2 separate regions of the Homo sapiens genome follow, and region 1 is linked to region 2. The links are contacts of gene promoters, found by promoter capture Hi-C in human tissues and cell types (Jung and others, 2019). All regions are on one chromosome and are shown on one strand. The core of a region is centred on a gene start or on the middle of the fragment in contact, and the rest is flanking DNA. Distances in the headings are between cores, read along the strand shown. Region 1 has its middle 13 kb from the start of CTSG. Region 2 holds the start of GZMH (granzyme H).

Region 1 (6,663 bases), core at 1,186-3,685, 45 kb after region 2:
TCAGTGCTTACTTTGCCCAAGGGCAGAGCACAGGCCAGTGTTAAACTCTCAAAATGGCACCAAGGGTCTGCAACCTGGGAAGGTGGAACCTTTTACAGGCTGGCAGTGTGGGCAAGAATCTGTAAGAAGTGTGGTCTACTTACATCTCAGTCTTACAGCAGCATGGTTGTAGGGAAGTGGGTATCATTCTAGATAAGTGTAGCAGCAGCTGGTTTCCCTGCTGTTCTTTGGCTGGGGGGTGGTTGCAGCCACGTGAGCCCAAGCTCAGCCCAAGGGTGAGGTGAAGCCCAGCATTAAACTCTCAAGATGGCATCTTGAGCTTGGGACCAGAGCGGATGCCCCCTTCCCCAAGGAAGCAGTATGGGCAAGAAGCTGTTTAGAGTATGGTTCACTCATGTCTCATTCTCAACAGGAGCACACAGCAGGATGGTAGGGACTCTCCCAGGGGTGCATAAGAGTGCCTGGTCTCCCTTCTCCCTTTTTGGAGCAGCAGCCATGTCTGTAGATCCCCAATATCTAGGCTGTCGAGAATGGTGTCCAGCTGAAGCTGTTCTAGGCTCGGATGCCTTTGGGATTTTGTAGTGAGTTCCCTTTCTGGAGCAATATCTCTGTGCAATCTCTAAGCAGCTACATATGTCAGTCCTGAGGCCTTAGTGAATCAAGAGATTCTCCCATAGCCAAGATCATAAAAGACCATTTTGGAGTGTGGATCCCTGGGGGTTTCTCTTACACTGTTTCCTCACATTCAGAAGCCTTTCCTGGCTCTCAGCCAGTCCCCAACCAGATAAGCCACTACAGACTTCTTTTGATTAGAGTGTGCATGAGATATTTTCTCATTTTTTGAATATGAACCTATTTGTGTCTTTGTAGTTAAAGTGTGTTACTTAAAGACAGCATATAATTGGTCCTTGCCCCTTGATTAGAGTGCTTATTCCGTTTATATTTAATCCAATTATTATGATTAAACTTAAATCTGCTATTTTGCGATTAGTTTTCTATTTATCTCATAGACTTTGCTTCTCTCTTGCCAGCTTCTTGCTTTCTTTTTTGTCAAATAGGTTTCCCACTTTTTTTTTTTTTTTTTTTGAGACAGGTCTGGCTCTGTCACACAGGCTGAAGTGCAGTGGCACAGTCTTGGCTCACTGCAACCTCTACCCCCTGGCTCAGCCTCCCAAGTAGCTGAGACTACAGGTGTGCACCACCACACCTGGCTACTATTTGTATTTTTTGTAGAGATGGGGTTTCACCATGTTTCCCAGGCTAGTCTCAAACACCTGAGCTCAAGCAATTCACCTGCCTTGGCTTCCCAAAGTGCTAGGATTACAAGTGTGAGCCACCACACCTGGCCTAATATATTTTCCACTTTTCCTTGTTAATTTCTTTATTGTCTTTGAGCTATATCTCAGCATTCCTTTTAGTGGAAAATATAAAGATTATGGTATTCATTTTTATTTTAGAAAAAATATAGAAACATTGCAACTATATAGCTTCAAACTAGATGTCTATATTCACCATCACTAGTACTTTTCATTGCTTTCTGTAGATTTGAGAAACCATCTGACATCATTTCCCTTCATAGTCAAGGCTGTAGATTGCCATTTTCCTGAGTATGAATCATACTTTTTCTTTCCTTACATATCTAAGGATATTGTTTGGACCTTTGGCCCCTCTAAATCTCATGTTTAAATGTGATTTCCAATGTTGCAGATGGGGGCTGGTGGGAGGTGATTAGATCATGTCAGATCCCTCATGAATGGTTTAGCACCATCACCTTTCTGATAAGTATCAGTTAGTTCACAAATGATCTGGTTGTTTAAAACAGTCTGGGACCTCCCCCTTCTCTCTTTCTTGCTCCTCCTCTCACCATGTGACATTCTGGCTCCCCTTCACCTTCCACCATGATTGTAAGCTTCCTGAGGCTCTCACCAGCAACAAATGCCAGCACTATGCTTCATATGTGGCCTGCAGAACTGTAAGCCAATTAAACCTCTTTTCTTTATAAATTATCCAGTCTCAAGTATTTTCATAGCAATGCAAGAACACACTAATGCTTCTAGTAATTTGGGGCTAAAAATAAGACACACTTAAGTGACTCTTGATCCCGTTATGTTCTTCTGAAAATGGGTTTTCCTTCAGATTTATTAGTCTGTTCTTGCATTGCTATACAGAAATACCTGGGTAATTTATAAATAGAAGAGGTTTAATTGGCTCACAGTTCTGTGGACTGTACAGGAAGTATGATGCTGGCATCTGCTCAGCCTCTGGGCAGACCTCAGGAAGCTTACAATCATGGCAGAAGGCAAAGGGGAAGCAAGGCATCTCACATGGTGGGAGCAGGAGCAAGGTATTGGAGGGGGGCGGTGCCACACACTTTTAAAAGACCAGATTTCAAGAGAACTCACTCACAATCATGAGGACAGTACCAAGTGGAATGGTGATAAATCATTTATGAGAAATCCACCCCCATGATCCAATTACCTCCTACCAGACCCCAACATTGATATCCTCCAACATTGAGGGTTACAATTAAGCATGATATTTGGGTGAGAACACAGATCCAAACCATGTCATTCCACTCCTGGACCCTCCCAAATCTCATGTCCTTCTCTCATTTCATAATATAATCATTCCTTTTCAACAGTCCTCCAAAGTCTTAACTCATTCCAGCATTAATTCAAAGGTCCAAATTCCCATCTGAGACAAAGCTACTCCTTTCCACCTATGAGCCTGTAAAATAAAATACAAGTTAGTTACTTCCAAGATACAATAAGCATACAGGCACTGAGTTAATACTGACATTCCAACAGGGAGAAAATGGCCTAAAGAAAGGGGCTACAGGCCCCATCAAAGTCTGAAGCCCCGAGGGCAGTCAGTAAATCTTAAAGCCCCAAAATAATCTCCTTTGACTCCATGTCCTACATCCAGGGCACACTGGTGTGAGGGGTGGATTCTCAAGGCCCTGGGCAGCTCCCCCACTGTGGCTTTGCAGGGTTACGCCTCCAAGGCTGTTCTCACAGCTCCTTTCACAGGCTGGCATTGACTGCCTGTGGCTTTTTCAAGTGCAGGGTGCAAGCTGTCAGTGGATCTACCATTCTGGTGTCTGGAGGATGGTAGCTCCCTTCTCATAGCTCCACTAGGCAGTGCCCCAGTGGGGACTCGGTGTGGAGCTCCAACTCCACATTTCCCCTCCCCACTACTGTAATAGGGGTGCTCCATAAGGGCTCTGTCCCTGCAGCAAGCTTCTACCTGGACACCCAGGCTTTTCCATACATCCTCTGAAATCTAGGTGAAGGCTCCTAAGCCTCAGCTCTTGTATCCTGCACACTTGCAGGATTAACACCACGTGGAATCTGCCAAGGCTTGCAGCTTGCACCCTCTGAAGCAGCAGCCCAAGCTGTACGACAGCCCGTCTGAACCATGGCTAGAACTAGAGCAGCTGGGATGCATGCAGCAGTGTCCTGAGGCTGCACAGGGTAGCAGGGCCTTGGGCCTGGCCCACAAAACCTGCTAGTCCTCAGGAAACACAATCATTGCCTTCCACCATGATTGTAAGTTTCTTGAGGCTTCCCCAGAAGTTGATGGGAGAAGGTGCCTCAAAGTTTTTTGAAATGCCTTCCAGGCCTTTTCTCCATTGTCCTGGCTATTAGCACTTGGCTCCTTTTGACTTATGCAAATTTCTGCAGTCTGCTTGAATTCCTCACCTGAAAATGCGCTTTTCTTTTCTACCACATGGCTAGGCTGCAAATGTTTCAAACTTTTATGCTCTGCTTCCCCTTTAAATATAACTTCCAACTTTAAGTCATTTATTTGCTTATGCATATGAGCACAGGCTGTTAGAAGCAGCAACAACACATCTTGAATGCTTTGCTGCTTAGACATGTCTTCCACCAGATACCCTAAATCATCACTCTTGAGTTCAAAGTTCCACAAATCCCTAGAGCAGGGGTATATTGCAGCCAAGTTCTTTGCTAAGGCATAACAAAAGTGACCTTTGCTCCATTTCCCAATAAGTTCCTCATCTCCATCTAAGACTTCATGAGCCTGGCCATCTCTGTCAATATCACTATCAGCATTTGAGTCACAACTACTCAACAAGTATCTAGGAAGTTTCAAATTTTCCCTTATCTTCCTGTCTTCTTCTGAGCCCTCCAAATTCTTCCAACCCCTTCCTGTTACTCAATTCCAAAGCTGCTTCCATATTTTCAGGAATCTTTATAGCAATACCCTGCACCTGGTACCAATTTTCTGTATTAGTTCATTCTTGCATTTGTATAAAGAAATACTGGAGGTTGGGTAATTTATAAAAGAAAAAGGTTTAATTGGCTCACAGTTCGACAGGCTGTATTTAAAAAAAAAGCATGATGCTGGCATCTATTTGGCTTCTGGGGAGGCCTCAGGAAACTCACAATCATGGCAGAAGGCAAACAGGGAGCAAGGCATCTCACATGGTGGGAGCAGGAGCAAGGCAGGAGGGGGTGTCGTACTCTTTTAAACCACCAGATCTTGTAAGAACTCACTCATGACCATGAGGAGAGTACCAAGTGATATGTTGCCAAACCATTTATGAGATATCCACCCCCATGATCCAATTAACTCCTGCTAGGCCCCTCCTTCATCCAGGTCCCACCAGGTGCCACCTCAATTGTAATTGAGGATTACAACTGAAAATAGAATTTGAGTGGGGACAAAAATCCAAACCATGTCATCAGGTAAAGACTTAGTCTGCCTGGACTCAAGACTATAAACTGTGTCTTCCTTGTGAAGTGCAGCAGCTGGTGTTTCTGTTTAGCTGCTGTTATGTAGCCTCACCCCATACAGTCTTCCCCATGCCATATGCAGTTTTGTGATCAGCTAGGAAAAGGACATAGTTCACATTCAAATTTGGGGGTCTTACCCCTTCTATAGGTCCCTGAGTTCTAGAATTCCCCTCTCCTTAAATTTCCAACTGCTCCACCAGCCCTAAATCCTGTCCTTTGCTATCTCAAGGCAATAATGCTACAACTTTTTTCTGTCATAGTGTAAAGGGATATGGCGTACTCTTAGGTAAAAATAGAAAGCACAAGTTGCTGTTCTTATCTGTCATGGTCATCTGTGACTCTCCTAAATTTCTGCCTGCTTTGTGTACTTTCCAGTGACTTCAAATACTTATTTTAAATATTTCTTTCCAGTTTTTACAATTATTGCTTGCAGGAATCTTTACCAAACCCCTTGACATTACCACCATTCTTGGAATTCCGTGTGCATGTATTTTTAATTAATAAAATTAATATTTTATGTAAGCCTCATAGCAGAAATTGGCTGTTGCCTAATATTCTAGAGTTTGCATTGCCACATTTTATTAATTCATCTTCCCATTTATAGACAACTTATTTTACCTCCAGCATCCAGAATCCACACAAAAACACGCTACAATAAGAATTTTTCTATACATCCCCTTGTAGGTCTGTGTGTGAACTTCTCTGAAACATTATGAGGACACAAACATGGGAAAAAATTCCAAGCTCATGGATAGGAAGAATCAATATCAATCAGTACTTCCAGTTTTGCCTATTCAGTATGATATTGGCTATGGATTTGTCATAAGTAGCTCTTATTATTTTGAGATATGTTCCATTTTACCTAGTTTATTGAGAGTTTTTAGCATGAAAAGGTGTTGAATTTTATCAAAGGTCTTTTCTGCATCTATTGAGATAATTATGTGCTTTTTGTCATTGGTCCTGTTTATGTGATGGATTACATTTATTGATTTGCATATGTTGAACCAGCCTTGCATCCCAGGGATGAAGCCAACTTGATCATGGTGGATAAGCTTTTTGATGTGCTGCTGGTTTTGGTTTGCCAGTATTTTAGTGAAGATTTTCACATTGATGTTCATCAGGGATATTGGCCTGAAATTACCTTTTTTTGTTGTGTTTCTGTCTATATATTTTCAACCATTCATGTTTCATGTCCTTTAAATTGTTTCATGAGCCTCTTGAACAGCCACTAATGGAGTTTGTAGGGAAGTTCGTGTACTATCCCAACCACCAGCTTGAATACTTGAGCACTATTCCCCAAGTAGCTAAAGCAACCATGGTCACCAAGCTACCCACCATCTGGGCTTGAATAAGAAAGAATATTACATTACCCTGGCTGTGCTTAGGCAACATTACTCTGGTCCCTAGCATGAAAAAGAAATAAATGTTTTTAAACTGCCTTGTCCAAAAAGGATAAGGGAATTTTAGATTTTCAAACAAGCCCTTGAAATGGAAATAATCAGAAAAACATCATAAATTCTTAGCCAATACACAATTGTTTCTGGAACAGATAATGGTGGTCAAGAGGGATCATTTCGATATAGGGGCCACCAAAATCCAGATCTGACATCACCGATCTCGTCATATTTGATGCAACTTCACATAACTACACAAGAGCTTAAAGTTAAAAGTCATTATGAAGACCATAGCAGAGTAGTTCTCTGCCTTGGCTGCACATTAAAACCACCTGAGTAGCTTTTAAAACTCCTAGTGTCAAGGCAATAACCCAGACCACTTGAATCAGAATTTCTGGAAATGGGACCTAGCCATCAGAAATTTTTTTAATTCCCCTATATGATTCCAATATGCAGCCAAGGTTGAGAGTTACTGTCCCAGCAGAAATTTACTCATATTTTTATCTTAGAAA
Region 2 (7,345 bases), core at 4,556-7,055:
TAGGTGAGTGGACCGGAAACAAAAGCACTAAAGCTAAGGTGGCTGTACAAATTCTGAATCAGATGAGTGCGGAAACATCACTAACACAACAAACACATAATAAGTACTGTCAATAATAGAAACTGTAAATTTAAAAAAGAAATAGAAAAGAAACACAAAACATGACTTCTTTTTAACTTTCCTTCACAGCCAATGAGTCAAGTCTTCTTCCATCATCAGAGGAGGTGAAGATGCAGAAGAGAGCGGCCACACTTGAAGAGTGAATGAGAGCAGCAGGAGCCCCAGGGGAGGGACCTTGCCTCTTCAGAAGACTGAAGCAGTGACAAGCGAAAAGAAGAAACCTTAGTAAACTGATTAAAGAGAGTTCACCTCCTCCATAAGACACAGGCCAGACCTGGATAATAAGGAGGGTCATAGATAGCCCTGGAAATAGATGTTATTTTCCTTGCAATACATCACTTTGGCCCACTGTGCCTTGGGCTGCCCCTCGAGTGCCCAGGCACCCAAGCACCTCTGAGCTTTTCTCTCAGGACGTTCTCTGGAGCTATAAAAATTTGTTCTGTCCAAGAGCAGTCTTAGCCCTCAAGTGAGAAAGAATTAATGCTCCTAGAGACAAATTTCAACCACCTGGAAACAGGAATTACCAGGCAAATGACCCAGCCTCCTGAATTTTGGAAAGACAATGCTGACATCCATTCTTTATGGATTCTCAAAGAGTCCCCAGCAGGATTCAGCTCCAGATACCCACAGCAATAGGTAGCTCAGTAATGCACTCATGGTTAGCTCTCCTTATTTTCCCTGTTTCATTCTTCCTACTTCCTCGCTCCAGTCTCTTGGAATTATCTCAGAAAAAAAATTAATTACCTCTAACTAAATCCTTGTCTCGGCCTGTTTGTTGAACAAAAGACTCAAACTAAAATCCAACTGTATTGGGTTGAATAGTGTCCCCCCAAAGTTTATGTTCACCCACCACCTATGAATGTGACAGCATTTGGAAGCAGGGTTTTGCAGATGTAACTAAGTTAGAATAAGTTCATACTTGATTAAGAGGGACCCTAATCAAATGACTGGCATCACTTTAAAACAGGTAAATGTGGACACAGACACACAGGGAAGATCACCCAGCAACAGATACAGAGATTGGAGCAATGCATCTACAAGCCGAGGCAGTGGCAAGGATTGCTGATACCCCTAGAAGCTAGGAGAAGCATGGGACAGACTTTGCCAGACACTTCCAGAAAGAACCAACTCTGCTGATACCTTGATTTCAGGCTTCTGGCCTCCAGAACAGTGAAAGAATCAATTTCTGTTGCCTGCTGCCAGCAGTTTGTAATACTTTGTTATAACAGCACTAAGAAATTAATACCCCAGAGTGTCTTAGTCAGGGTCCAAGAAGACAGAAACCACTCCAAATATTTGCAAACAAAAGGAGTTTATTCCAGGGAACTGATTACATGACAGGAGCCAAAGAGGGTAAAATGAATCAACCGAGAGATTAGCAATAGCAGGAAGCCACTACCACACCTAGCTGGAGGCATGGAGGGAGCAAGCAGTGTTGCCAGGACCCTGATCACCTGGCAGAATATGAAACCATATCTAGCCTGCCAGGTGAGAGCTGGAGCCAGGAGGAGAGCAGAGGAGTCATCCTGAAACAGTCCGCAAGCTAAGAAGAAAGAGTGGGAAGGAAAAAGACCCTAATTCTTCAGCACCACCCATTGGCTTGGTCCAAGAAGACAGAGCTGTCAGACAGAGAAATCTGTGTGATGTAGACTGTGTCACAGAGAAGAGCAGCAGGAAGATGAGGGCTGGATCTGAAAGCTACCTGGGCAAGGATCCAAACCAACAACTCCACTCCAACCCCATGAGACTCAAAGGAGGAGAGTTTAAGCTTTTGCTGTTTTTTAAATAAATTACTAGGATCCATAATAATACCAGTAAAAGGTGAGATCTGAAGGATGAGAGACACTATGAAGAAACAGTGTGAGACAGTAATAATGCACTGATGATCATGGCAGTACAAAAAATGGGAAGTCCTTCATGAGTCAGGTTTCTTTAAACCCACATGCAACTCCCACTTAGATGGACACAACAGTATGTGAAGACTCATACTGTGTTCTTTTGTTCCAAGAACCACCACGGGAACACACCAGGAAAACCAAAGGAATTCACACACCCTTTGAAAGAAGCAGGACACTGCTGCAAATTTTGCAAAACAGGTGAAAAACTGTAAGTTCCCAAAGTGTGAGAGGGAAAAAACCTGCCTCTGAACACACATCCCCACTGGGGAATCTGAAAATCCAGATCAAGGGAGAATTTAACCTTACCTTGAACTGAAACAAATGTAGGCAGTCACACAAAATATAAAAGTAGAAGTATCAGTATCAGAAGACTGCAAGGCACTTCCAATCTTCAGCTTGAGCCCAGGGAAGCCATTCCTGACTATATCTCACAGGATCTCTCAGGGAAGGCAGCCAGTGGAATTGGGGAGGGGTCACCAGGTGAAGGAAGCTTCCAACTGAAATTGGTAGTGGTTTCAATTGGACACAAACTTTCTTTAGTGGAGTCTAGGGGACGAGTGGGAGCTTTGGCAATATGAGCACATGAACTCAGAAGCAAAGAAGCCACTCCCGTTGGAGTGGGCAGATGGGGAGGGGTGATATCTGAAATCCATGCTTGCTTTCTCAGTGGGAAAGTTCACAGCCTTGGGCAAGATCTGAGTGGGGCACTTTGGGAGTGAGACTGGCCTTGCCAACTGTGTGGGAGCTGGGTGAGACCTCTCGCTACCAGCTTTCCGCCACTTCCCTGGTGAATTATATGACACAACAGAGGTAGCCAAGATCCCCTCTGGAAAATAACCCCATTGGCCTAAGAACCACCCCCACATCCCGCACAGTGGCCACAGCAAACCCCACCCAAGGAGACTCTGAGCCCAGACCCACCTAACCCTGCCCCAACATGATGGTATTTCTTTACTCACCCTGGTAACCAAACACAAAAGATAGAAACTCTTGGGAGCTTTCAGGCCCCACCCATCATCTGAGAAACCAAAATACTCACCCTGGCCAACTTAGGGCAAACCTAGATCCCTCTACTACCAATGCAGCTGGTGCTCTCTTGAAAGCACCACTTCTTGGCTGGAGGCCAAACAACACAGGCCATTACAGCAACTCATGACAGAATAACCCTGAACCCAGGAAGGAGAAGATAACACCTAATTCCAATGCCTGCAACATCCTGGCTAAACAGAGGTCCTGAGTGTGTCCACATGAAAACTTCACTGCTAGCATAACCAGCATTCAAGAAACCCAGCACACTACACATATCTACAACCAAGGACTCTCACAGAGTCTACTTCACTCCCCTTCCACCTCCACCAGAGCAGGTAATGGTATCCATGGCTGGGAGACCTGAAGAGAGATCACATCACAGGACTCTTTGCAGACATTCCCCAGCACCAGCTGGAACCTGGTAGCGCCACTGGGAGGCTAGACCCAGAAAAGCAGTAACAGCCAATGCAGTCCAGTGGTCAGAAAGTCCCATCCCTAGGGGAAGGGGGAGAGCACCACATCAAAGGATCACCCCATGGGATAATAGAATCTGAACAGCAGGACTTGAGTTCCAGACCTTTCCACTGAAATAGTCTACCCAAATGATAAGGAACTAGAAAGGTAATTCTGGTAATATGATAAAACAGAGTTCTATATCACCTCCAAAAGATCACACTAGCTCCCCAGCAATGGATCCAAACCAAGAAGAAATCTCTGAATTGCCAGATAAACAATCCAGAAGATCATTAAGCTACTCAAGGAGATACCAGAGAAAGGTGAAAAAACAACTTTAAAAATTAAAAAATATATATATACATAAATATAGGATATGGGTGAAAAATTCCCCAGAGAAATAGATATCATAAAGAAAAAATAATCACAACTTCTGGAAATGAAAGCCATGCTTAGAGAAATACAAAATCCACTGGAAAGTTTCAACACTAGACTAGAACAAGCGGAAGAAAAAACTTCAGAGCGCAAAGACAATGCTTTCAAATTAACCCAATCAAACAAAGACTAAGAAAAAATAATTTTTAAAAAATGAACAAAGCCTCCAAGAAATGTGGGATTATGTTAAACAGTCAAACCTAAGAATAATTGGTGTTCCTGAGGAAGAAGAGAAATCTAAAAGCTTGAAAACCTTATTTGAGGAAATAATTGAAGAAAACTCCCCTGTCCTTGCTAGATACCTAGACATCCAAATACAAGAAGCTCAAAGAACACCTGGAAAATTCATCACAAAAAAGTCTATCACCTAAAGTCCTATCCCAGTTCTGTTAAAGTAATAGCAGGAATAGCACCTTATAAATACCTAGAAAAATAGTAGAAGGAAACATGCTTAAGCATTAATAATGATCTCCGGTGGTAGAATTTTTGGTAAGTTTAATTTTATCATTTACATGTTCCTACTTAACTATACATATATATTTATATATATTCATATACATAAATATACAAACATATGTATATATACACATTTTTGTTTATGGACAGCCTATGACTGTGAGCCAAGGGACATCAGAGACATGGCTCTCTGGAAACTGAGAGAATACTTAGTGGACAGTTTTTTGTTTGTTTGTTTGTTTGTTTTTGAGATGGAGTCTCGCTCTGTCACCCAGGCTGGAGTGCAGTGGCGCGATCTCAGCTCACTGCAAGCTCCACCTGGGTTGACGCCATTCTCCTGCCTCCGCCTCCCAAGTAGCTGGAACTACAGGAGCCCGCCACCACGCCCGGCTAATTTTTTGTATTTTTAGTAGAGATGGGGTTTCACCATGTTAACCAGGATGGTCTCGATCTCCTGACCTCGTGATCCACCCGTCTTGGCCTCCCAAAGTGCTAGGATTACAGGCATGAGCCACCGCGCCCGGCCTTAGTGAACAATTATTATCAGGATGATCAGCATCCATTTTTCCATCACCTGGCAACAACAACTAGCATTTCTCAAGGGAAATCCCCTCCTCATTCATAAGCACCATAGATGGAGTGGAACAGTCCCCACCTCAGCTTAAGGAGGGCTAAATAACCAAAGCATAAAGCAATCAGTCCACTACACTTCAGTGGACCCAATGATGACTCATTTTGGTTCAATAAATATCAAGTCCAGAACTTTTGTGCAGAACTGTGGAATAAAAAAAGTTATCTTTGTCACAGAATATTTATATTTAAAGAGGGGATTCTAAATATCCCAAAAATATGAATCTGAGATAGTGGTAAGATAGGAATGGGTTGCCATTTGCAGTATTTGTTGGGTGTGTGCAACTCTGCATACTGCTAAGGCAAGTCCAGCCTCCGTCTCACACCAACAGGCAGATTTCCCCACCACGGCCCTTACCATCTTGTGCTCTAACCCCAGATTTTCAGTCTACTCTTGCTAACCATCAATTCTTCAAGGGCAAGAGCCATGTCTCTCATATCCCTGGATCTGGCTTGCTAAATAATTATTCATGATTTTATCTGAGTAGAAAAAGAGCCAAGAACTGAGAAAAGGAGACATTCTTGGTTCTCAGTCACTGAGGAGCTTCTGCAGTACCAGCCTTTCTGCTAGCTGCAGCCACAGCTTCAACAGCTCCACCTCCTTGTTCTTTATTCTTGCTTTCACCTTGTTACTCAGCAGCAGGGGTGTAAATGTGACAGTGCCATGTCAACTTAAACCAAACCAGATAATTTTAATAAACCACCTTCTATAATGACACCCATCAAAACCAGAAGGGGACAAGTCTAGGAGGTCTCTGAGTTTACTGTACCCATCCCTCCTTCATCTCCCTCCAGCATTTGTTTCTGGAAGGAGTCAACACCAACAGCTCTGACCTGGGCAGCCTTCCTGAGAAAATGCAGCCATTCCTCCTCCTGTTGGCCTTTCTTCTGACCCCTGGGGCTGGGACAGGTAAGTGACTATCCCTATTCCAGAGGCCTGAACCCATCTTATAAGATACCCTGTACCCATGAGCACTGGTCAGGAATTTTCCTCAATCTGAGCCCACCTCCCATTCCACACCCAGACTTATAAATCTGAGGCTAGATAGACACTCAGCAAAGATCGAAAAATGAAGGGTGTTCCCTAAAAGGTTTAATGGGTGTTAGCCTCTCCCTAGACCTCTCCTTTATGACCTGGAGTGTGGATTGTTCTTAGAAAGGCATTTGGTAGGGAATGTGAAGCTAAAAAAGATAAGTAATTATTACTCTACACTCCAACCCAGGAAAGAGGAGCTCAGACACCAAGTTGCAGTCATAGGAGTTGTTACTGGACTCAGCTTAAGAACCACTTATTCAGTGCCCCCACCCAGTCACCCCTGCCAGGAGGGAAGCCCATGGTGCAACTGATCTCAGAGATGGCAAGATGACTGTGTCCATAGCTCTCCCATTACCTTGGCTCCACCTGGGCTTTGCGATTCATTTTTAGTTGATTTCTCCACTTCCTTCTGCCTTTGCAGGCCCTCAGCTACTCCACTGACCTGGTGATAACCCCCTCTAACATCCCTGAGGTCCTGAATCCCACCAGCACTACCCCCACTAAACCTCAGCCAAAGGCTAATTGGAGGCTATTCATTTATGCACCAAACAACACTTACTGAGAACCTAGAATGTGTTCAGCCCTGGCACATGAGAATTTTAGAAAATCCAACTCCAGAAGCTCATGGGTAGATCATTAGAAAATGGCACCAATCAGGAGGACAGCAGAGGCTCAGAGGAATCAGAGAGACTCACTAAAAAGGAGGAGCCTGGGAAGTCCTGTCCAGGATCCTCTGGGGCTCTACCACTGTGAAAATAGATCTTTCTTCCTCCATGTGTGTTTCTGCAGTAGGATGCAGAAGTCAAGCACTGTCCATTCTTTCTGAGAGAAGGTTCTGAGACTTAAAGTTCAGAAAAGCTTGCTCTGCCTGCAAGGAGTACTGCCTGCAGAGCTCAGGAGGACCCCTCCCTCACTGTCTGCAGCACACAAAACACTTCACCCTCAATCACTGTCGTCCTAAGCCTTCTCTCCTGACTGCAGCCATCCCCAGCTACTTTATCTTCCAGTCTTTCCTTTCAGAGGAGATCATCGGGGGCCATGAGGCCAAGCCCCACTCCCGCCCCTACATGGCCTTTGTTCAGTTTCTGCAAGAGAAGAGTCGGAAGAGGTGTGGCGGCATCCTAGTGAGAAAGGACTTTGTGCTGACAGCTGCTCACTGCCAGGGAAGGTAAGGAGCAGCACCAGCTCACCTCCTGAGTTCCCCCTACAGGGACCCTTGTTTTCTCCTGGGGACTGCAGCCCAGGGGAGCTTCCAGAGTTCCTGGTAACACAAGCCCATGAAAGCTCA

The links. The method cuts DNA at HindIII sites, captures the fragments that hold promoters and counts their contacts. A contact is called where the count stands out against the background at its distance.
Region 1: a contact is called between a fragment that was not itself captured here and the fragment with the promoter of GZMH in region 2, in 1 of the 25 tissues and cell types used here (small bowel).

What each region holds. Positions count from the first base shown.
Region 1 is chr14:24,560,042-24,566,704 of GRCh38, reverse strand. No RefSeq gene overlaps it. Among named protein-coding and RNA genes, the nearest start is that of CTSG, 13 kb to the left of the region's middle. The HindIII fragment of the contact is 4,178 bases long and covers 347-4,524 here.
Region 2 is chr14:24,608,145-24,615,489 of GRCh38, reverse strand. GZMH (granzyme H) reads left to right here and starts at 5,805. Exons shown (of 5, transcript NM_033423.5): 1 at 5,805-5,931; 2 at 7,078-7,225. The coding sequence starts at 5,877. The HindIII fragment of the contact is 6,565 bases long and covers 3,345-7,345 here.